7 separate regions of the Homo sapiens genome follow, and regions 2, 3, 4, 5, 6 and 7 are each linked to region 1. Evidence: promoter capture Hi-C in 16 types of primary human blood cells and fetal thymus (Javierre and others, 2016). All regions are on one chromosome and are shown on one strand. Each heading gives the region's core, a stretch centred on a gene start or on the middle of the fragment in contact. The rest is flanking DNA. Distances are from core to core; before and after follow the strand shown. Region 1 holds the start of TBL1X (transducin beta like 1 X-linked). Region 2 has its middle 3.6 kb from the start of LINC03114. Region 3 has its middle 18 kb from the start of CLDN34. Region 4 overlaps WWC3 (WWC family member 3). Region 5 has its middle 7.1 kb from the start of WWC3. Region 6 has its middle 56 kb from the start of LINC03114. Region 7 has its middle 34 kb from the start of LINC03114.

Region 1 (3,348 bases), core at 270-2,769:
GCAATATTTTGCAGGGTAATTTTGAGGTCCGCCGTTTTGGTGGAGGACCGGCCTCTTAAAAACTCACCTCCGGCCGGGCACGGTGGCTCACGCCTGTAATCCCAGCACTTTGGGAGGCCGAGGCCGGCGGATTGCCTGAGGTCAGGAGTTCAGACCAGTCTGGCCAATATGGTGAAACCCCGTCTCTACTAAAAATACAAAAAAAATTAGCTGGGCGTGGTGGCATGCGCCTGTAATCCCAGCTACTCGGGAGGCTGAGGCAGGGGAATTGCTTGAACCAGGGTGGTGGAGGTTGCAATGAGCCGACAGCGCGCCACTGCACTCCAGCTTGGGCGACAGAGCGAGACTCCTCAGAAAAACAAAAACAAAAACAAAAAAACAAAAACCTCACCTTAGGTCCCCCTCCCCCTACAACCAGAACAACAAATGGTCTAGAGTTCGAGGAAGAGCAAGTGAGGTTATAGTTTAGATTGCTGAGTGTACCGGGCTCTTAGCACGAAGCTCATTATATAGTAAAGGAAGGGGCAAGAATATTTGAAAAATATTCAACGAGGCTGACCCCAGAGGTGCTGGGGAGGGGGAGTGGAGATCTGTTTAACTGAATTAAGGCTGCGAGTGGTTGGGAGTAGCCTACGTGGAGGGGAGGAAGGAGCGCTGGGGACTTAGGTACACCGGGGCCAGGCCGTGTAAGCCATTGCAACATAAAGCACTTTGCAAGGGCCAGAGGGCTGATGCCTGGGGGGTTGGGGTGGGAGTGATGAGGCCCGAGTGCCCAGGTCCCCCCAACCTCCTCAGCCCCCACACCCGAGTTCCTGGCGCCTATGCCTGTGTGTCTGAGTTTGTCCCTAAGCATTTCTGGCTCTTCTTGGGAGGTGTTTTGCAAAGGTCGAGGCTCCGCCGGAACCCCCACTTTTTGAGCTGGGGTAAAGACTACTGGGGTGTCTTCTAAGACGCCGATTTTGAGGGAGATTCACCATCGGGCAGGTGGCAGGGGGTTCTGTTGGGGCAGCCGGGTGGCTTCCTTTTTGGGGTGGGGGAGGGTAACACTTTAGCAGTGATCGAGGTTCCCCTGCCCCCTAGAAACTGAGGGGGTGGCCGAGGTTCCCGTCCCCTCGAGGCAGTCGTGGAAAGGCTGGGTTTGGGATGTGATGGGGGTAGCCCTGGGGTCCTCTCAGTCCCACGGAGGCCACGGGGAAGGGACCGGGACCAGAGCAACTAGGGAGAGGCCCGGGTTCCCCTCACCCACCCTAGGCGTGGGGGAGCGGGGCGGGCTTGGTAGGGACGCTGGTCCCCCGACCGTGGGACAGGGGCTGGGTTGGGACGCGGGTCCCCACTAGGAGCCGCGGGGGAGGGGCAGGGCCGGAGTCCCTACCCTCGTAGGGGAGGGGCTGGTTCGGGACGCGGCTCCCCCGGGGCGCAGGGGCGGGGCCGGGTGGTACGCCGGGTCCCCTCCCACGGCCGTGAGGGAGGGGCCGGCGGCGGGGGCGGACCCCTGGCGGTCCTCCTGGCTGGGGTCCGCGCGCTCGCGGCAGCTCCCCGTGGAGGTCACTGTCCGTGCCAGTCCCTCCCGCTGTCCCGCCCTCTCCCGCTGCCGCCGCCGCCGCCGCCGCGCCCGCCTCAGCGCCCCCACTCCGCGCTTGGGAGCGAGGAGCCGCCAGCGCCCCCGCCCCGCCGCCGCCGCAGCGCCCTCAGGCCGCCATTCGCCACCGAAACTTTCCAGCGCCCGCGCTCTCTCCGGGACTCGGCGGCGGCGGGGCGGGGGCGGCCCGGGGGCGGCGCGCGGCTGCTCCGGGGCGCCGGGCCCTCTTCGGCCGCCGCACGGCCGGGACTCGGAGGCTGCCGGCTGGAGGGAGGTTCGGAGCGCGGCCGGGCGCGCGGCGCCGCCACAAGTTGCGCTGCTCGCGACGAGGTGAGTGCGCAGGGCTCGGCGGGCCGGGCGCGGGGTCCGCAAACTTCTGCGGGGAGGCGGGTCCCGCGCTGACCCTCCAGGGTCCGGCCGGCGGCTCGGGGCGCCCGAACGCTCCACCCGCCCCTGGAACTCCTGTAGGTGCAGGTCGCCAACTGTCCCCGCGGCGCTCGGACTGGGGTGCGGCGCGCTCCCAGGAGCCTGAACAATACCCCGAGGTGGCCGCTCCCCGAAGTGCCGGCGCGCCTTGCGGGGAGAGACGGAGGTCGGCGGGGGGCTCCTTTGTTTTGGGGAGGGGGAAGTGGCCGGTAAGTTTAGGGAAGCGCTCGGCTTTTCCTCCGGTGCCCCTTTGTCTGCCGATTCAGGGGCTTGCTGGGCAAACCTGCGCCACCGCGGGCTCCGGGGACCGGGGTGGAGGGCGGTGGCGGGATTTCCCCGCTGTTGGGGAGAAGAGCCCCATTCATACCCGGGACGCGGGCCGGCCCTCCCGGACCCGGGTGGAAGCGCAGCCTCGCGGAGTGGGGCAAGCGGCGGGCGAGGTGGCGCGGGCCCCGTGTCTGCTCAGTTTCTGACGCGCAGAAACTGTCAAGGAAGTCGGGAGCCCCAGTCCTCCGCCCATCTCCCCGGCCTGAGCGCACGGCTGGGCTGGGGGCACCCTTGGCCCGTCGAGGGTCTGCAGAGCGCCGCCCGGGGAGAGCGCAGACCTGTTGCTGCTCCTGGGCTCTGACGGGGCGGGTGGGGTGGGTCTCGCAGATCCTGGGCCCCGGCCTTGCTATCCAGGGGGACCTTCCCTAACGATGGGACCGGTGCTCGGAGTGGAGTATGGGGAGTGCGCCTTCGGGAGTCGGCGCTGGCCGGATATGTGACAACTGTGGGTCGCTGGAGGCCCGCCTGCGCTGGGATAGGGCCTGGACTTCACGTGCGTCGCCTGTGTTCCGTCAGACCGGGGCCGGGGCTCGCTCCCTGCAAGGCCTCGTGTTCCCCCAGCCAGCTGCGTTGGACGTTCCACAAAGGTAGGGACTGACGTTTATTCTCGAGTCAGTGATGTTCTGGAGCAAAACCTAAAAAGAAACAAAAACCTACCCTCTATTGTATTTGCAACTGTTTCTGCTTTGCATTGTCATGTGTGGTTTGACCTGCCTTTTGGATGTTTTCCTCTCCTGAAACATCGCCCAGTCCCTGGTTTAACCTGGAAGGCGAGGGGGAAGGAAGGCAACCTCCCTGCTAAGGTTCCAGGCAGTGGCTTTGGTGTTGGAAGTGGCACTTGACGATTTTATGAAAAGTTTACAAGTCCTTCCTAGAAAAGATGTAATTAGGAAAAATAAAATACAGAAGAACGTTGAGTATGACGCGTTTATTTTAAAGGGTAGTCCTGTCTCAAATGTGCTGCACATTTTTGTGGAAAGCCACCAAGCTGGGTAACTAATGCAAACAACAAAAGT
Region 2 (3,220 bases), core at 224-2,723, 530 kb before region 1:
CATTTTCTTTATCCACTTGTTGATTGATGGGCATTTGGGCCCAGCAATCCCACTACTAGTTATCTACCCAGAGGAAAAGAAGTCATTATATGAAAAAGATACTTGCGGCAACAGAGCGAGACTCCATCTCAAAAAAAAAAAGAAGAAAGAAAAAGATACTTGCACATGGATGTTTATAGCAGCACACTTTGCAATTGCAAAAATATGGAACCAGGTCAAATATCTTATTACATGTTTTTAATGTAAAAGAGAAAAGGCTAACTGAAACAATGGTAACATCAACAGAGAAGGGAGATTAGGGGATTGGCTGATAAGAAAATGCTAAAAAGCTTTAATGCCATGTTAAGTAACACTTTCTCTAATTGTAATTTCTCCTACACAGAAATTGCAAACCTGTGTTCTACCATGTCCAACTTGAGTCACCCCTTCTGTTTTTTTGTTTTGTTTTGTTTCTGTTTTTTAGAAGGAGTCTCACTCTGTCACAAGGCCAGAGTGCAGTGGTGCGATCTGGGCGCACTGCAATCTCCGCCTCCCAGGTTCAAGTGATTCTCCTGACTCAGTCTCCTGAGCAGCTGGGACTACAGGAGCATGCCACCACGCTCAGCTAATTTTCTTTTCTTTCCTTTCTTTTTTTTTTTTTTTTTTTTTTGAGACAGAGTCTCGCCTTGTTGCCCAGGCTGGAGTGCAATGGTGCAATCTCAGCTCACTGCAACCTCTGCCTCCCAAGTTCAAGCGATTCTCCTGCCTCAGCCTCCCGAGTAGCTGAGATTACAGGTGAGCACCACCACACCCAGCTAATTTTTTGTATCTTTGGTGGAGACGGTGTTTCACCATGTTGGCCAGGTTAGTCTCGAACTCCTGACCTCATGATCCACCCGCCTCGGCCTCCAAAACTGCTGGGATTACAGACGTGAGCCACCGCACCCTGCCAATTTTTGTATTTTTAGTAGAGACAGGGTTTCACTATGTTGGCCAGGATGGTCTCCATCTCTTGACCTCGAGATCTGCCTGCCTGCCTTGGCCTCCCAAAGTGCTGGGACTACAGACGTTAGCCACCGCGCCTGGCCGAGTCACCCCTTCTAACTTAGCAAACTGAACCCAGGGCCCTGGAGAAGGAGATACAGAACTTCTCTCTTCCCCCACTCAGGCCTTTGACAAACACCAGCCCTTCCACTTACCCCTGGTATCAGAGCCATTGGCCAATTTACACAGAAATTATTAATAGCCCCAAATATCAGAAAGGTAACCACAAAAAGTCCTTTTCTAAGTGAAACGCATTTGGAACCTCCCATCAAATGAGGATGGCTTGTTGGCAGATGACAACACCAAGAGCCCCTTTGAGGGGACGGTTCATCCAGGCTGGTGTTCTGTACTCATTATAGGACGTAAAGAGTGATAGGGAAGAGCTGGATTTGACAAAGCCAGTGGCCAAGCACAGGGGTTCCCCTGAGCAGCCACCTTGGGGACAATGATTGGGCAAGTGGGGATGAGGTAAAAGGCTATAAGTTGGAGACCTAAAACTGTGGATTGGAACCTCTTCCCTGAGCCCAGACAGTGATCCGTCTTCCTGCAGAGACACTGAGGAAAGGTCACCTGCGTTAACCAGCAAAAGCGCATCAGGTGCACTGGTGCCAGGTCTCGGCAGCAACCCCATGAGGAAGCAACAGCAGCCCAAAGGTTTCTACAGCCTTGGGTCTGTGAAGCATTCAGAAAAATGACTGAAATCTATGGCTTCTCCCTGAAACCTAGCATGTCATTATCTACTCGGAAGGATATGCTGTAAGCATCCTCTGTGCACATGTGAATGCCATCAGTCCAGGGAATTTACAGCCTCACCTGTTCAGTTTTCCTTTTTTGGCTATCTGGTCACTCTCAACAAAAATAATAGCAAAAATGGTTGAGATGCCATTACCAAATGGCACCTATTTTCATTAATAGACAAAATCCTTTGGAAGCCACTTAATGTTTGTCTGCAAATATTAGCTCTGCCACCCTGGCTTAAGATGCTTGAGAAGGCTGAGCTGTGCTAACACAATTAATTTGCTGAGTATATACATCCTCATCAGCAGGAGAAAGGTAAGTCCCAGGCCAGCCAGAGATTGCATTAAAAATTTCCAATGAGTGGGTTTTACAGCAATGAGTATTGAACATGGTCAATTGCTTTTTTCTCTTCCAATGCCACTGATGTTAACTAATTCATAGTCAATGTGCTATTCCCTGTGCCCCTGTTGACAATACAACCCTTGTGTAATCCCTTAACATAATGAGATTACTGCCTTGTTAGGAAATGGAGCAGTTTGCAGTTGAGTTTCTGGGTCTGGCCACAGTTAGGAGGCTGGGAAAGTTGTAGGACACAGTCATGTATGAATGCTTTCTCTCCTGCTCAAGGCTCTGTCCATGATATCATGTAAAGTTGGGGTCTCCCTACCTCTGGTTCCTCCCATCCTCTTTAATGTCTCCCCTAAATGTTTGTTATCTCTACTATCAAATTTGCACTTCGAGTCTTTGTCTTTGTGCAGAGGTCTATGTGCTGTTCTGTGGCCTAGAACATAACAATTTCTACATGTTGAGAGTTTACTCCTCCCATAATTCCATCTCTAAAGCCACGACCTCCATGCAAGCTTTTCTGATACCCTGAATCCCAGGATTCTTTACATGGCCTTCTAATGATATTTATAAACTTCTCTTTTGCTATGTATTTGTTTTTTGTATTGAAATTCCATTTCTCCAATTCCATTTAAGAGCAGAGAATGAATCTTCTTTGTGATTCTAAATTCACTTTTTTTTAGTTCTGATTCATATGGTTTTTAATTACAATGTAATTTTTAAACTATTTGGGCTGTTGAGCCCTACAAGGAAGTCTTTTGAATTATTATCTTTAGAAAATGGACATACTATTTAGAAGTTTTTCTGTTTTCTGTCCAAATGATAACTAGTTCTAAGTAATGGCAGTTCTTAATGCTGTATATATACATATATTTTTGGTGGGGGTGTTGAAAATTTTTTTTTTAATTCTTATACTTTAAGTTCTGGGATACATGTGCAAAACATGCAGGTTTGTCACATAGGTATACACGTGCCATGGTGGTTTGCTGCACCCACCAACCCATCATCTACATTAGGTATTTCTCCTAATGCTATCCCTCCCCTAACCCCCAACCCCCCTACAGGCCCCAGTGTGTGATGTTCCCCTCCCTGTGTCCATGTGTTCTCACTGTTC
Region 3 (3,237 bases), core at 527-3,026, 520 kb after region 1:
TCCGGCCAGAAAAACCAGAGCTCCCCCAGCAATGTTGACACTTCTCTCCCAAGAACTTCCTCCTCGGCCCCAGCATCTCAGCCACATCAGTCCCAGGATGACCGCCACAAGCCCGAGAGAACCCACAGCCCCGGCCACGCACGTGAGGACACGAGCCACCTGGAGTTTGGCAGCCAGGTTCTTTGGGCTGGCACACACTGGCACCTGTGTCTCGAGTCACACATGCTTCCCAAAGGCCCAGCATGTACTTCTCACTCTCGAGTAAACCCGAGGAGAAAGTCGGCCACTGAGGCATGCACACACAGGCCACTGAGGCATGCACTTGGCAGGCCACTGAGGCATGCCAGGGAACAGACGCGGCCAGCCACAGAGGCCAAGAGCCCCACATTTTGAATCAGCCAGATCGCCCTGCTTTTCATCCTGCTCTCCAGGCCCAAGTTATTCTGGGGAAACTGTCTCTCGGTCACAACAGGACTGGCTCGTTAGATTGACATCTTGACGGATTCGCCGCAGTTCGTGCCAGCTGGTCTGCAACCATTAGTTCAGTCCTTTGTCAACCAACCAGAATGCAGCTGCTTATTAAATCGGGTTACTTGGTAACTGGGCTGCTATTGTTCACCCTTAACTAACGCAGATGAATACCTACCATCAAAATAGGCCCAATAGAAAACCTGCTGCCAATACAGAGCCAGGTGGGAGAACCAGCAGATTGAGACAGGTATGCAGGCTTGGGAGAATTCTTGCTGGTTATAAAAGGCATGCATTTTAGCAATTTTATTTCCAAAAGGTAAACAGTTTGGGATACGGAGTTATTAGACATTAGAGTCATCTATCACGGTTTGTTTTTTTTTTTCCTTTTCTTTTTTTCTTTGAGACAGAGTCTCGCTCTGTCACCCAGGCTGGATTGCAGTGGTGCCATCTCGGCTCACTGCAATCTCTGCCTCCTGGGTTCAAGCAACTCTCCCTGCCTCAGCCTCCCGAATAGCTTGGATTACAGGCACACACCACCACACCCGGCTATTTTTTGTATTTTTAATAGAGATTGGGTTCAGCCATGTTGGCCAGGCTGGTCTTGAACTTCTGACCTCAGGTGATCCGCCTGCCTCGGCCTCCCAAAGTGCTGGGATTACAGGCATGAGCCACTGCGCCTGGCCTGATCAAGTTTTTAAAAAGAGTATTTCTTCACTTTTAATTATTTTAAATTCTCTTTAGTATTGTCTCTTCCAGGGTTTGGTATCTGTATCTGGTTCCATCATTCCTAAACCTACCTTCAGAGAAAACATCTAATTAATTACCCACACCTTCCATTAAAACCAGAGATTGGGATCATTTTGAATTAGAAGAGACAGACCCTTATGATCCCACAATTGTGTTCCTTGGTTTTTATCCAAATGAGCTGAGAATTCACGTCCACAGAAAAACCTGCGCACAGATGATTATAGCAGCTTTACTCATAATTGCCAAAACTTGGAAGTAACAAAGATGTCCTTTGGTAGATGAGTGGATAAACAATGTGATACATTAAGACAATTGGATATTTTTCAGCACAAAAAGAAATGAGCTATCAAGCCATGACAAGACATGGAGGAACCCTAAATGCATATTTCCCAGTGAAAGAAGCCCATCTGAAAGGCTACGGACGGTAAGAGTTCAACAGTGTGACCCTCTGGAAACGGCAAAACTATGGAGACAGTAAAACAATCGGTGGTTTCCAGGGGCTAGAGAAGAAGGAAAGATGAAGAGGGGATTGCAGAGGATTTTTAGGGCAGTGAAACTATCTGTATGCTACCATAATGATGAACACATATCATTGTACGTTTGTCCAAATCCATAGAATGTACAACACCAAGGATGAACCCTAATGTCAACTATGGATTCTGGTGACGATGACATGTTGATGAAAGTGCCCTGAGGGATTGTTCACAGACCTACACCAGGAAAAGAAGTTTCTGCTCATGAATGCCACTCTGGCTCTCAACCTGTGCATGAGTGAGATCCCCACAGACGGGAGCTCACAGTTCTCTTTCTGCCCCCATTAACCTGGAAGGAATCTGGCCTCAAGAGGTGGGCAAGATTGGATCAGGCACCAGAGGCCTTGGCGGTCATTCTTGTCAGGCAGCCTTGCCAAGCTGGAGGCAGAGGCTGGTGACAGGTGGGACAGCAATTCCAAGGAGAGGTGGTGATGGCCCAAATCAGGGGCATGGCAGAGCCGTGGGGAGAGAGGAAGAGAGATGGAGGGGCAGCAGTGCCGGGATGTGGGGGTTACTGGGAAACAGAGGACAAGCAAATGCGGTGACCGGAGGGGACACCTGCACTTCTCCGTTGGGCAACTTCCCGTGCTCACGGAGGCCTCTCATGTTGTTCGTAAGCTACTGAGGCAGTGTGTGACGAGATGCTGAAACCTTGGCTGGTAAATGCACTTCAGGCCTTCAACTTCCTGGCTACTACAGCCGAGGTGGGGTTTGGGTAGCTGTGAGTAAGCCAGATGCGACGGACCGTGTAGTGATAGAGTCCTCACTGAAAGGTCCAGAAGAAATCCCATAAGGTCATCAAACCCAGGCTCTGAATGGAGTTCCACTAGGACACAGTGGGCCCGTGGATGGTAACTGTCACATCCACAAGGCTATTCCTTGTGGCACAATCTTCGTCATAGGATCATTGAAACAGCTGAACTTGGTGGGAAGAAATCGGGAAACAGCTTTTGTTTTCCTACCACTACCTTGCAAACACGATGTGGATGAACCTTGAAAACATGATGTCGAGTGAAAAAAGTCAGACACAAAAGGCCACAAATTGTACAATTCCATTTATATGAAATGTCCAGAGTAGAGAAATTCATAGAAACAGAAAGTAGATGAATGGTGGGCAGGGGCTGGGAAGAGGGGAATGGGGAGTGACTGCTCATGGGCACAGGGGTCGTTTTAGGAGGGACAAAAATGTTCTGAAATTGATGGTGACAATGGTCGCACAACCTTGTGAATGTACTAAAAACCACTGCATTGTATGCTTTACACAGGCGAGTTGTACAGTATGTGGATTATACCTCAGTAAAACTGGTATATATATATATATATATAAAGAGAGAAAGAGCGAGAGAGTTCCACATTAATTTCCGATAAGCACCCTTTGTAAACTAAAAAAACAAAAGACACTTCATTCAATGCTGTCTATCTTAAACGAACACTTAAATATATCTTTAACGATGAAGGATTAGTACAGTTTTTTCTAACCTTGGAG
Region 4 (3,122 bases), core at 542-3,041, 560 kb after region 1:
TGTACCAAAAACATATTTGATGAGCTAGCTAAATGTGGGGGTGGGGAGAGGTAGGCTTTCTGAGAGAAGAGGCCAGTTGGAAACTAGTGGAGGTTTTCTCAGGTGATCACAGGCCTGAGCTAGAGCGATCAGGGGCACTCGGGCTAGAAAAGGCAGGGATTGTGTCAGAGACATTGTGAAGGAAACATGGTGTAGAGGACTTAGCTAATGCTTGAATGAAGGCAGGTGAAATCAGGAGGGCTGCTGAGGAATCTTACTGGCACCTAAGGAGGAGCCGGGACTCACTGGGGCCAACCGAAAATCCTTCTATTAACCCCACTCAGAAGCTTTCATTGGTGGTGGTGGTTTTGTGTGTTCAGTAACTCCGTTACATAGAGAAACATGTTAAGCTGTTCAAGTTACTGTATTGCTGATGGGCAGTGTCCTAAAAGGTGTCCAAACCAAGAAAGTGTTATTTTTGTTTTATTTTATTTTTGGAGACAGGGTCTTGCTCCGTTGCCCAGGCTGTGTAGTGCAGTGGCATGATTATAGCTCACTACAGCCTCCAGCTCCTGGGCTCAAGCAATCCTGAACGTGTTACTTTAGACCAGGGTTTCTCAACTCTGGTCTAAAGTAACCCTGGCGGTGGGGTAATTCCTTGTTGTTAGGGCTGTCATATGTAGCATATGACGTTTAGTAGCGTCCCTGGTCTGTTACCACTAGATTGAGATATTAGTAGCAAACTCCCCACCCTCAGATGTCTCGAAAATGTCTCCAGACATTACCAAATGGCCCCCGGGGCGGGCAGTATCCCTTGGCTGAGAACTGTCTGAGCTACCTCCATCCACCTGGTTACAATGCTTCATCTTTAGCTGCTGAATTTGTTTCAAGCCTGTTGTCAGTTCCTGAGATACTATGCAACAGAGACCTGATTTCTGTGTTTCCATGAACAAATTTCAAACATATTTATGTGAAAAACCCTGAACCAGTATATGAAACTGGGAACATATATTACTATGAGTGTATTCTTCAATTCTTAGAATACTCTCAATTGATAGGCATTTACTGACTGTCAAGAGTATACATATATGCAGTGAAACAGAAGAAAATGCATCTGTTCACACTGGTGTTCTGCAGCAACCTGGAGAGCTGGCCTGGCCTTTTGAATGTGTGTGTGTGTATGTGTGTGCGCGTTTGTGTGTGGAGGGAGAGATCAGGCTGCCTAAGATGCTCCGAGCCATTCAGTGCCCCGAGCCATTCGGTTCTCCCTTTGGTTCGGAGGAAGGAGGGGTGAGAGGAGTGGAGTGCTTCTGCCTTTGCTCAGAAATTCTACAAATACAGAGCAAGGACATCTCGAAAGGCCGCTTATGGAGCTGTGGGATCTCCAGCATTTTTCATCTGGAGGGTTCTCTTTTCATTTCTTTAAAACTGAAGGGACTGAGAGAGAGCATGGGGAGGAGGGAGGGATGTTGATGTTGAGAATGAACGGGGGAGATGGCTGCACCAAGCCTGGGATCACCAGCCCCACAGTGGCAGTGGGTGGATCTTTGAGGCAGGCGGAGGTGCCCCAAGTAGCTCCTCTGCCCGAGGCTCCGTGCTCCAGGAAAGAGGGCATCTACCAGCTTGGGTATGGTGTTTCCAGGCGGCCCGGAGCTCGGCCAGGAGACCACATAGTCACTGCAGGAGACTTGTTCTTTCTGCCACTTAGAGCTCTGTCCTGTGGACGGGTGCCTGTCCCCAGCATGGGGGAGGCCTTGGAGTATGGGGTCAACTAGATTTACCTTAAACATTATTTCCATTTTTAAAAAATTGAGATACTATAAAATTTACCTTGGGCACGGTGGCTCATGCCTGTAATCCTAGCACTTTGGGAGGCTGAGGCGGGCGGATCACTTGAGGTCAGGAGTTTGCAACCAGCCTGGCCAACGTGGTGAAACCCTGTCCCTACTAAAAAAACAAGAAAAATTAGCTGGGCATGGTGGTGGGCACCTGTAACCCCAGCTATTCGGAAGGCTGAGGCAGGAGAATCACTTGAACCCGGGAGGTGGAGGCTGCAGTGAGCTGAGATCGCACCACTGCACTCCAGCCTGGGCGACAGAGTGAAACTCCATCTCAAAAAAATGAAAAATAAATAAAAATAAATAAAAGTGTACAATTTAGTGGGTTTTGTTATATTCACTAGATTGTGCAACCGTCACCCCTATGTAGTTCTGAATACTCCATAAAGAAACGCTGTGTTCATTAGCAGTCAGCCCCCATACCCCCAGCCCCTGGCAACCGCTAATCTGCTTTTCATCCCTATAGATTTGCCTATTCGGGACATTTCACAGGGACCTCCCTGTATATTTCTTTGCAACTTCCTATGAATCTGTAATTATTCCAAAATAAAAAGTGAAAAAGAGATTGAGAATGAAGGAACCAAGCAGAGATCTAGTTATTTATAATTGAAAAATAAATTTAAATAATCTCATTTAGATTTTATTGTGTTTTGTCTATATAGTACTTAGCATATAGTAGGCCCTCAATAAATGTTTGCTGAATGAAATTATGCATGTAGAGACAGGTTTTATTGATTTATAATGATCATTCTGTATTGCTGTATTTCACTGACTTTTCCTCATGTACACTATTCTGATGTTCTCAAGAGCAGTCCCTCCTTGTAAGCTGTCAGAGCACCCATTTTATTGGGGTGGCCACACCTTCTCTCGGCTCTGGAGTTACGACCTTGTCTGTACTTCCTGGTGATGTCCTGATTGCCCTAAGCCAGTGGGTCTCAACTGAGGATTCCCTCTTCCTTCTCCCTACACCCAGAGCATTCGGAAACATTTGGAGAGATTTTTGATTGTTAACACCTGGGGGTAGGTTCTGCTGGCATCCAGTGGGTAGAGGTCAAGGATGGTGCTGAACATCCTACAATGCACAGGATCGACCCCACCACAGCAATGAATGATCCAGCCCCTAATATCAATAGTGCCTGAGATTGCTCTAAGCCAATCATACAGCATCCGGGCCTGCAATTGGCTGAGGCAGGAGCACATGACTCAGACCTGGTCAATGAGCTGTGAGGGGAGGTATGAGACAGGCATGGTTGGGGAGAAGGCTCCTTGTCCCCATAGACCTACGTGGAAGGAACTTCTGCTAAT
Region 5 (3,178 bases), core at 180-2,679, 540 kb after region 1:
TTGGGCAACTCATGGCCAATGTGGGCATTTGTGGTTTGCCTCTGGTCTACACTGGATATGGCTGCTACAGTTTACGGCATGTACTTGAGAGGTCCAGCATGTCATGCCTGGGGCTCCTGGGTTTGGTGGGATCTCTGGGGGCTTTCATGGCAGGCTTCTGTTTCCTGTGATTTCCCAGCACTGATTGGGACCCTGTGAACAGAGTTCTATAGACTCTGTTCCCTACTGAAGCAGCAGCAGGAGCCTGGGGGCAAGGTTCCAGGCATGTTAGTTTCCTAGCGCCACTGTAACAAAGGACCACAAACTGATGGCTTAAACCTACACAAATGGATTCTCTCACAGTTCTGGAGGCCAGAAGCCTGGAATGCAGGTGTGAGGCAGGGCCACTCTCTCTCCGAAGGCTCCAGGGTAGAATCTGTTCCATGCCTCTCTCCCAGCTTCTGGTGCTTGCCAGAAATCCTTGGCATTCGTTGCCTTGTGGCCTCATTACTCCAATCTCTGCCTCCATTTTTACATGACCCTGGTGTCTGCGTTCCTTCTGCCCTCCCTTATGATATGACACCAGTCATATTAGATTAAAGGCCCACCCTACTCCAGTATGACCTCATCTTAAGTAACTGCATCTACAAATACCCCATTTCCAAATAAAGCCACATCCACATGTACCCAGGGCTAGGCCCTCAGCGTATCCTTTTTTTGGGTGGGGGAGCACAATTCAACCCCCAGCACCAGGGACCCAAGAGAGTCAAGAGCAGTGGAGGTTCTTCCTGCCAACGGGGTCATGCTGACCTCGGGGAAGTACCTGGGCTGGCAGAGAAGGCTTGGGCAGCAAGTAGTTTGATTTGCAGGGACAGAGTCCCATTCTCAAAAACAATCTCCTCTGCTGTCACTGAAAATTGTTGTTTCTTTGGAATTTTCAAAGGTCACCTGACTAGAAGTGAAAGGTATGGACAGAGCCGGCTTCAAAGGCTGCTGCCTGTGCAATTGTACAGGGTACTGTGCTCCAAAGGGCTTGTGCTTATTGTAGTGGTCCACTGTTACCATCTGGAAATTCTTGAGATTTTTTTTTTTTTGGAACAAGGGGTCCTGCGTTTTCATTTTGCACTGCAAAACGTAGAGCACAAACTATGTAGCTGACCCTGGGTTGGGACATCAGGCAGGGGAGACGCATAGTAAGCTAAGGCAAAAATCAAGCTCTGTTACAGTGTGGTTGGCCTGCAGCTGGCTTCTTCTCCATTTCTACTTCTGGGCCAGGGAAGTTGAACTGTATATTACTGTGCAAGCCTAAAGCTGAGTCACAAACAGATCCAGGCTCTTCAATGTGCTTATCATGCAGAGCAAGTGTGAAAGTGGCTTGTGATTACACTTTGCTCAGGGATTGCCATAGGGCTTGGCACCTCTTAAATGATAAATAAACCCCTCTTGATTATGAGGTGAAGTAAGGCAAATACTACCCAGATGGCTCTGTGAATCGATATTGTAAAGTAAGTTTTTGTAGATGCCTACACCCCCACACCATCCTCTTCCATGGGGTGTAATATGATGCTTCTTAAACTAACAGCCCTGGGGTGGACATTTCAATGAGTTCCCCCGTGATGCTGCCGCTGCTGGTCCACGAGCCACACTGTGAGCAGAAAGAGTCCTAGAAACAGGCCAGGTGCAGTGGCTCACGCCTGGAATCCCAGCACATTGGGAGGCCAAGGTGGGCAGATCTCTTGAGTCCAGGAGTTTGAGACCAGCCTGGGCAACATAGTGAGACCCCATTTCTACAAAAAGTTAGAATATTAGCCGAGCATGGTGGCTTGTGCCTGTGGTCTCAGCTACTCTGGAAGCTGAGCGGGGAGGATTGCTTGAGCCCGGGAGATTGAGGCTGCAGTGAGCCATGTTTGCGTCACTGCACTCCAGCCTAGGTGACAAAGTGAGACACTACCTGAAAAAAAAAAGAGAGAGAAAGAAAGAAAGAGTCATAGAAACAAAGAACAACTAGTTATAAAGTCAGGAGGTGTGATGGTTAATTTCATGTGTCAACTTGACTGGGCCACTGGGCCACGGGGTGCCCAGATATTTGGTCAAACATTACTCTGGTTGTGTGTGTGTAAGGGTGTTTCTGGATGACATCCACATTTGAATTGTAGACTGCCTTCTCAGTGTCGGTGGGCCTTGCCCAATCAGTTGAAGGCCTGGCTGGACCACAAAGGCTGGGTAGGAGGGTGCTCTTGCTGTGTGACTGCTTGAGCTGGAATGTTGGGCTTTTCCTGCCTCTGGACTCAAACTGAAACATTGGCTCCTCTTGGATCTCAAGCCTGCTCACTTTCAGACTGGAACTGACACCATCAGCTCTCCTGGTTTTCAGGTTGTCAGACTTGGACTGGAACTGTGCCATCATCAGCTCTCCAGCTTGCCAACTGCAGATCCTGGGATTTGTCAGCCTCCATAATTCCATGAGCCAATTCTTTATGATAAATATCTCTCTCTGTCTGCCTCTTTCTCTCTCTCTCTCTCTCTCTCTCTCTGTGTGTGTGTGTGTGTGTGTGAGAGAGAGAGAGAGAGAGAGAGAGAGAGTTTGGATATATATATATTGGAGCTATTTGTCTATACATCCCTGATGAATACAGGAGGTCAGATGGGATAGCTGGGCTTTAGTCTTAGGGCTGATGCATTTTAGCACTGGCCAGGTCATACCAGGCTAGTTACTTACATTCTCTGAGCCTTGTTTTCCCACTATAAAGTTTGGGCAGTATAAATGTTCTCATAAATTACACATTTGAGCCCAGGAGTTTGAGACAAGCCTGGGCAACATAGTGAGACTCCTTTTCTACAAATATATATATAAACCGGGTGTGGTGGTGCATGCCCGTAGTCCCAGCTACTCAGGAGACTGAGGTGGGAGAATCACTTGAGCCTGGGAGTTGGAGGCTGCAGAGAGCCGTGATCGCAGCACTGCACTCCAGCCTGGATAACAGAGTGAGGCCCTGTCTCAAAAAAATAATAACAATACATTATACATATCTCATAGGGTTTTTTTGACCTCAGCACTGGTGTCATTTGGGGCAGATCATTCTCTGGTGCTGGGCTGTTGTGGGCACTGCAGGATGTGTGCCAGCATCTCTGGCCTTACCCACTAAATGCCAGGAACCCCAGTCTCCCAGTTGTGCCAAGCAAACATGTCTCCAGGCAT
Region 6 (3,427 bases), core at 909-3,408, 590 kb before region 1:
ATCAACAACTTGAAATATGTTTTTATGTCTTTTTCCCATTTGCATACCTGTCAACCTGATACAAAGTGAGAATTTGGGAAATGCAAATAGCCTACTCATGAAATTTAATGATGTGCACATATGCTCTATTTTGATACATTGTAAAAATACACCATTCCCTGGATGCTTAAAAAATAATGTCCTCCCCTGAAGATAATGAAGCTTGGAATAGAGTAAGGACCCCCACCTCACCTACTTTGCCTTTTCTTGCCTCCTGTTTTAGTTGCATCATAAACCTTGAAGTCAGAAATGTGTTTAGTGTGTTTTCAATAGGTAGGATGGCCAACAACTCCAGTTTGCACCAGACTGAGAAGGTTTTAAAACCAGGAGGAGTTGGTCAACCTGCTAACGATGGACACCACAGAGATTGGCTTGCTTGTATTATTACAACCCATTACCCCCATTTGAGAACACCTCTGCACACACAGTCTGAACCCTGAGTTATTTTTGCTTAAGAACCAAGCACAAGACAAGGAGTGTTATTCAGCCTATAAGGATTTTTAAATTCTACCAGAACTACAGGTTTGAGTCACTAGTAGGCACCCAGAAGAAAAAAATATTTTCCAGGATGCTCTCCAGAAGCAGAACAATTTGGCTATGTCTAAAGTTTTAACAAAAGTGACTACAAAAATGGAATGACTTGCATAATTTCTAAAGGGCATACTGTAAAAATTTTTCAGAGACTCTGATAAGATAAATATGGTGCCATCCTGGCAAGGTAGATGTTCCTGTATTAGATAAGAGGGTTAAGTTTTCTGGAAAAAAAAAGCAAAGGAATAATGAGATGCATTGATCTAAGATAACAACTCTATAGTATATAATGCAAGCAATTACACTGATTCCAAAGGTATTGTTTTGATGTGGATCTAAAAACAGATTCAAAATAAGGTTATATTATTTTTCTCAAATGAAGAGCAAATCAGCAAACTGCTTTATTAGAGTATCAGGAGAGGATGAGGAGGAGGAAAAGGAGAATAAGGAGGAGAGGAGGAAGAAGAAGAGGTGGAGGAGGATGTGGAGGAGGAGCAGGAAAGGAAGAGAAGAGGGGAGAAGGGAGGGGGAGAAAGAGAAGAGGAAGAAAATCATGACATCTCTAATCTTCTTTAATCTTCACAACTGCCCTATGAGGAATGAATTTTTGTCTCCATTTTATAGACAAGCAATTCTGTTCTTATAATTGCTCAACTTTGCACAGGCAAGGAAGCCAGAAAAGTTTTGAAAGCAACTCTCTCTGCCACAGGAAATGCGACATTTCACCCCCGCTCCTTACTGTATCTAGAGTAGCAGTCAGGCGGTTCTCACTCAGGAATTAGGTCCTGCTCCAGGACCATTATCCTTGGGAGTCATTTACCTGACTACTGATTATGAGTACCTGGAGGATCACTCTGCTTCAGTAACACAGCTGTCATCTTTCATCTGAAGAGTTTGTTAAAAAAAATAGTAAGTTGAAAAGAATAGAATTCACACTATAGAGTAGTTTCTGCAGATTTTATAAAGCAGATAAGAGAAGAAAATAAAATAATGTAGAAAAGTCCCACCAGAAGAAATCAATGCCAAGGAGAATCTAATGCACTGACTATGTGCAAAGATACTGGAGAGGGATGTTGAAGTTCCCTGGGGCTAGGATCTCTGGTAAACAGTTCCTATGTCCAGAGGTGAAGTGGCCATGGATAGAAGTGGTTACCAGATCCATGCAGCACCTGTGTCCCAAAGGCAGTCTCCTGCCTCCTGCCAATCTCCTCCTAGAAGCCAACAGGAAGTCAGCTAGCCAAGGCCCACAGATGTAGTCCACTGGAGTCACTTCCTGAGGGTACAGAGAGGATGGAGAAGGGTGGAGGCACATCTGGCAGGCTATGGAAATACAACCATGACCAGCTTGGCCTAACCTCCTTTACTGATTCTGTTGGGTTCTCTGATTTGCTCATATTCCATCTGGCTCTAAATGACTTTTGTCACTGGGGCTGCTACGCTCCTTGAAAGACCTAGTTGCTCATTCTGCTTACAGAGTCTCATAGTTCTACCTCACATACACAAGTTTCACCAGCACAACACCAAACACCTCCATCCTAATTACAGCAGATTCAGGAACTGAAGAAAGTCTGACAATTCTGAAAAACATATTTTAAAATATTCTATTTTGGCCTGTGAACTCAGCTACATAATTACTTCTGAAAATGCTGTGTTGGCACCGTGGTGGAAGGGAGTTTATATAATCCATTGGCTCTAGGCTGGAAAAGATATCTTTGAGGTTAGCGTTTTCTGAAAGACGCTCCCAAGATACTCAAAAGCAATTTCCTCTAGAGCTGTTCCCAGTCTCCCACTTTTCAATGTTCATATGGTTAGAGGAGATGAGTTAAAAGTCATCTGCCCACCAGTCTGCAGCATCACAGTTTAACTCTTCCATTCCCACACACCAGTGGGAGATCCAAGAGTTGCAGAGTGGGCTGAGCTGTCCAGTGGCGTCAGGCAGGTGCATTTGGAATGAGATCCCTTACCAAGCATCACACCTCCATAACAAAAGGTAACTTAGCAGTCTGGTCTTCCCTGTCACTTAGAAAGAAATATCTTTTGTCAATAGCTGGTGTTTTAAGAAACATTGGTGAAGAACTAATGTGGATTAATGATGGCTGCATAGTTTTGTATTATCATTATAGTTTTGAGTGACACTGTGCTCTAGGTGTGCTTTCTTCACAAACTGAAAAATTAAGAAGCAATGGAGAGGAGTGCATTACAAACATGCAGAGACTGCTATACTACAGCTATGCCATGCTTAATAAAGCAGGAAACTATCAGATAGGCATAGTCCTTTCTCTGTAAAATAAGCAGCATATCTGAGGACATGCTACTCTAACTCAAGGATTACATATGACCGAGGGCCCAGGCACTTTGTGCTCTACAGTCACGTCTGCACCAGACCTCTTGCAGCTGAATGCAGCAGGGGTGCTGGGTAAGCTGAATAATGCCTCCCTGCCAAGATATTCATATCCTAATCCCCAAAACCTAAGACTATGTTACCTTACACAACAAAGGGGCTTTGCAGATGTGATTAAGCAAAGGCTCTTATAATGGGAAGATGACCCTGGGTTGTCCGGGTGAGCCCAATGTCATCACAAGGGTCTTTGTGAAGAGAGGCAGAAGGGCGAGAATGAGAGATGAAGATGTGAGGATGAAAGCAGAGGCCAGAGAGAGACAGAGAAATGGGAAGACGCCATGCTACTGGCCTTGAAAATGGAACAAGGGAGCCAAGAAGTAAGGCATGCAGGCAGCCCCTAGAAATTAGAAAAGACAAGGGAATGGATTGTCCTCTAAATGTCTAGAAAGAACATAGCCCTTGATTGTAGCCCAGTGAGACCCATTCCAGACATCTGACCTCCAGAACGGTCAGATA
Region 7 (3,172 bases), core at 136-2,635, 570 kb before region 1:
TTGCAGATGTGATTCAGTTAAAGATCTTGAGATGGGGGATGACTCTGGGCTATCTAGGTGAGCCCAGTGTCATCACAGGGGTCCCTATAAGAGAGAGGCAGGAAAGTCAGAGTCAGAGAAGGAGATAGAAAGATGGAAACAGGGGTCAGAGAGAGAGAAAGAGAAGTTTGACAATGTCACACTGCAAGCTTTAAATATGGAGGAAGGGGCCACAAGCCAAGGAATGCAGGTGGTGTTTCAAATCTGGAAAAGGCAAAAACACAGATTCTCCTCTGGAGCATCCAGAAGGAATGCAGCCCCTCAACTCTACCATGGCCCATTTTGTGCCCTGACCTCTAGAACTCTGAGATAATATACTGAGTTGTTCTAAGACACAAAGTTTATGAAAATTTATTACAGCAGCATTAAGAAACTAATATTCTGAGACTTGTAAAAATCAGTATCTGGGACCAACCTTCAGTAATTCCAATTCACAACTTCTTCCACCAATCAAATTTTATATTTCACAAATTTGTCAATTACCAGGGGTACAACAAAAACTGAGTCACAGCTCCTCTCCAAGGACCTTACAGTCTGAAGGAAAAGAGAGTTTTCTCAAAATAAAACATACCTCTTTCCTGATTAAGAAGCTTAACAACCACCCACAAATAGTGTCTATTCATAGACTCATGGTGTGATCTGTAACCCTTTGCTAAACAAAGAAATTGCATTCATTTTGCTTTATGTAAGTCAGCTTGCCTAAGGAGATAAGTTGTCAGTGGACCTCAAATTTTTTTTTTGCCATCTTTCACATTTCTTCTGAACAGTTGCCCCTGAGAACCCAGATGGTATTTTATCTTCATGTCCACCCAAATCTAAAAGTTGTGGGGTTAGGATGATAATCACTTTTGCAATGTTGGGTGGTTAGCCACATTCTGGAACACCATCCTGTCAGGCTGAAAGCTCACTAGGATTTGGAGTCGATGAGTACATGCTCAAGAAGGTGGTAGTTCTCTCTGCGGGGCAGCTGAATCTCTAGGTACAATTGCATGTTGAGACCTACAGACTGGTCCATAATGGGACACTGAGTTGGAATCCTTTTCTATCCACCAGTCTTCTCCAAAGAACAAGACAGCCAGATTCTCCCTACATTTCTTTAAAACTCTGACCCTCCCACATTGATCTACAATGCGTTAACTGAGGAATACAATTCAATAACTGCCATGTTGATTACATTTTGTTCTTGATCTTTCAACCCCCCTAGCAGCCCCATCCTTTTTCATGTGACTTTTCCCATTACCAGTGAGTCAATTTCCCTGCTGCATTGATGCTGGGCTTGGCAACTGTATTAGTTTCCTCATTGCTGCTGTAACAAACTATCACAACTTAGTGATTTTAAATAACACTAACTTATTATTTTATAGTTCTGGAGGTTAGAAGTCCACGAATGGTTCTTTCAGGGCTAAAGTCAGGATGTTTTGTTCCTCCTGGAGTGTCTAGGGAAGAATCAGTTCCTTGCTGTTCAGATTTTAGTGGCTGCCCTCATTACTTGGTTCATGCCCCAGCCCCAACACTGGCATTACTCTGACCTCTGCTTCCACGATTATATCTCCTTCTCACTCTGATCCTCCTGCCCATTTAGGTAATCCAGAATAATCTCCCATCTCAAGTCCTTAACCTAATCACATCTGCAAAGTCCCTTTTGCCATGTAAGGTAACATATTAATTAACAGCTGCTGGGAATTGAAACAGATCTATCACTGGGGGACCATTATTCTGCCCACACAGCAAAGTTACTTGCTTTGGTCAGAGAAGCAAAGGCAGAGGTTATGGTTTGCTAGTCAAGTCCAGGCCTGAAAAGACAACACATGTTTCCACTCATCTCTCCTATGGTTTTGTCATTACCATGAGAAGAACCCATTCTAGATAGCTTGCTGTACTAAGGAAGATGAGAGGCACATAAAGTAGACCTGATTCCAACCTACAGCTCCAGCCAGGCCAAACCCAATCAGCCATGCCCAGGTGACCTTGAGTCAACCAATACACAGATGCCTGATAGAGAAGAAAAAAAGGGTTTGTTGATTTATTAAAATAAACTTTTGGACATTTTGTTATGTGGCAATATCGTGGTAATGACTAGCTGATACAGCTGTACTTGGTTTAAAGCTTGAAGTAAAAAGTATCAGGCTGTGTGAGGCTTCCAGGACATGTGTGTCTATTGCCCTGACACAGTGAAGAATTACAATTATGCTTGAAGTTTTGCTCTGACATCTGTTAAATCTACACATAACACTTACTGCACATCCTACTCTCTTGGACATTGGTGGACCCAGTTATATGTTAAGAATTTCCAAAGATTTTGAAAGAACATATTCTAATCTGAGCTTCTTCCAGGAACTTAGATATTTCCTCAAACATGACTCCAAAGAAAATTTAATTCAACTCCATTACACAGACTTTACTCATCTTGTTACAGATATGAAATGGTCAATAATACAGGTCCGATTAAAATGACAGTGACATGTCTGTCCAATTTTCTTCTTGGACTGGGTTGTAATAATAACTGATGAAAATTCCCAATATGCTCATTGACAACATGTTTTCCTGTGCCATATGTATCTCAGTGACGTTAATTGATGATGGTGGTATGAATTTGATATCACTAGATATTGCAGATATGAGTAAAATACCTGTTTTACAAAACTGCCTGCATTTGGAAGATGTGGTTGAGGAAGGAGTTTGAAGACTTAAGATTAAGATGACACTCGCTCTTGACATACAGGGACAGTCCCAGTTTCAAATATTCCATTCAGCATTTCAGATCACTTGACAGCCAACAAGATCTGATTTGAGGATCAAAATATAAAGGGAAGGTGCTTTGATGGCTCTTAGCAGATTTTTAACCATTTATTATCCACTCCAGGAGGCAAACAACTGACTTTATTTCCCCTCAAAAAAATCCGTAAAATGTTTTAAGGTGTTTTCCATACAGAGACAATCCAGAAAGGGACTAACTCTAAAATATGCACATTTTTCTGAAAGTTGGATATAATTTTTACTTGCAAAAGAACATTCAACACATAAATGGAAAATATTCAATATAAAAATATCAGCTTCTTTAGAATTGTAATTTTAATTGCTAAGATGAATGTTGAAGCTGATTTAGCACCAGAATCATAATTGACCATAAATT

What was found. The method cuts DNA at HindIII sites, captures the fragments that hold promoters and counts their contacts. A CHiCAGO score of 5 or more calls a contact.
Region 2: a fragment that was not itself captured here is called in contact with the fragment with the promoter of TBL1X in region 1 in 4 of 17 cell types (activated CD4 T cells, non-activated CD4 T cells, naive B cells and 1 more); the score reaches 9.1 in activated CD4 T cells.
Region 3: a fragment that was not itself captured here is called in contact with the fragment with the promoter of TBL1X in region 1 in 1 of 17 cell types (monocytes); the score reaches 5.7 in monocytes.
Region 4: a contact is called between a fragment that was not itself captured here and the fragment with the promoter of TBL1X in region 1, in 1 of 17 cell types (activated CD4 T cells). The highest score is 5.1, in activated CD4 T cells.
Region 5: a contact is called between a fragment that was not itself captured here and the fragment with the promoter of TBL1X in region 1, in 2 of 17 cell types (activated CD4 T cells and non-activated CD4 T cells). The highest score is 8.4, in activated CD4 T cells.
Region 6: a fragment that was not itself captured here is called in contact with the fragment with the promoter of TBL1X in region 1 in 4 of 17 cell types (M1 macrophages, non-activated CD4 T cells, M0 macrophages and 1 more); the score reaches 7.5 in M1 macrophages.
Region 7: a fragment that was not itself captured here is called in contact with the fragment with the promoter of TBL1X in region 1 in 4 of 17 cell types (non-activated CD4 T cells, naive CD4 T cells, total CD4 T cells and 1 more); the score reaches 6.2 in non-activated CD4 T cells.

Annotation. Positions count from the first base shown.
Region 1 is chrX:9,463,539-9,466,886 of GRCh38, forward strand. TBL1X (transducin beta like 1 X-linked) reads left to right here and starts at 1,520. Exons shown (of 18, transcript NM_005647.4): 1 at 1,520-1,909. RefSeq lists enhancers at 120-948, 776-975 and silencers at 1,206-1,785, 1,906-2,045, 2,346-2,495. The HindIII fragment of the contact is 11,363 bases long and covers 1-3,348 here.
Region 2 is chrX:8,929,164-8,932,383 of GRCh38, forward strand. No RefSeq gene overlaps it. Among named protein-coding and RNA genes, the nearest start is that of LINC03114, 3.6 kb to the left of the region's middle. The HindIII fragment of the contact is 2,292 bases long and covers 328-2,619 here.
Region 3 is chrX:9,983,539-9,986,775 of GRCh38, forward strand. No RefSeq gene overlaps it. Among named protein-coding and RNA genes, the nearest start is that of CLDN34, 18 kb to the left of the region's middle. The HindIII fragment of the contact is 4,245 bases long and covers 1-3,237 here.
Region 4 is chrX:10,023,269-10,026,390 of GRCh38, forward strand. The region is part of intron 2 of WWC3 (WWC family member 3); the gene reads left to right. Among named protein-coding and RNA genes, the nearest start is that of WWC3, 9.6 kb to the left of the region's middle. The HindIII fragment of the contact is 2,935 bases long and covers 325-3,122 here.
Region 5 is chrX:10,006,524-10,009,701 of GRCh38, forward strand. No RefSeq gene overlaps it. Among named protein-coding and RNA genes, the nearest start is that of WWC3, 7.1 kb to the right of the region's middle. The HindIII fragment of the contact is 6,322 bases long and covers 1-3,178 here.
Region 6 is chrX:8,869,340-8,872,766 of GRCh38, forward strand. No RefSeq gene overlaps it. Among named protein-coding and RNA genes, the nearest start is that of LINC03114, 56 kb to the right of the region's middle. The HindIII fragment of the contact is 3,918 bases long and covers 200-3,427 here.
Region 7 is chrX:8,891,907-8,895,078 of GRCh38, forward strand. No RefSeq gene overlaps it. Among named protein-coding and RNA genes, the nearest start is that of LINC03114, 34 kb to the right of the region's middle. The HindIII fragment of the contact is 1,516 bases long and covers 628-2,143 here.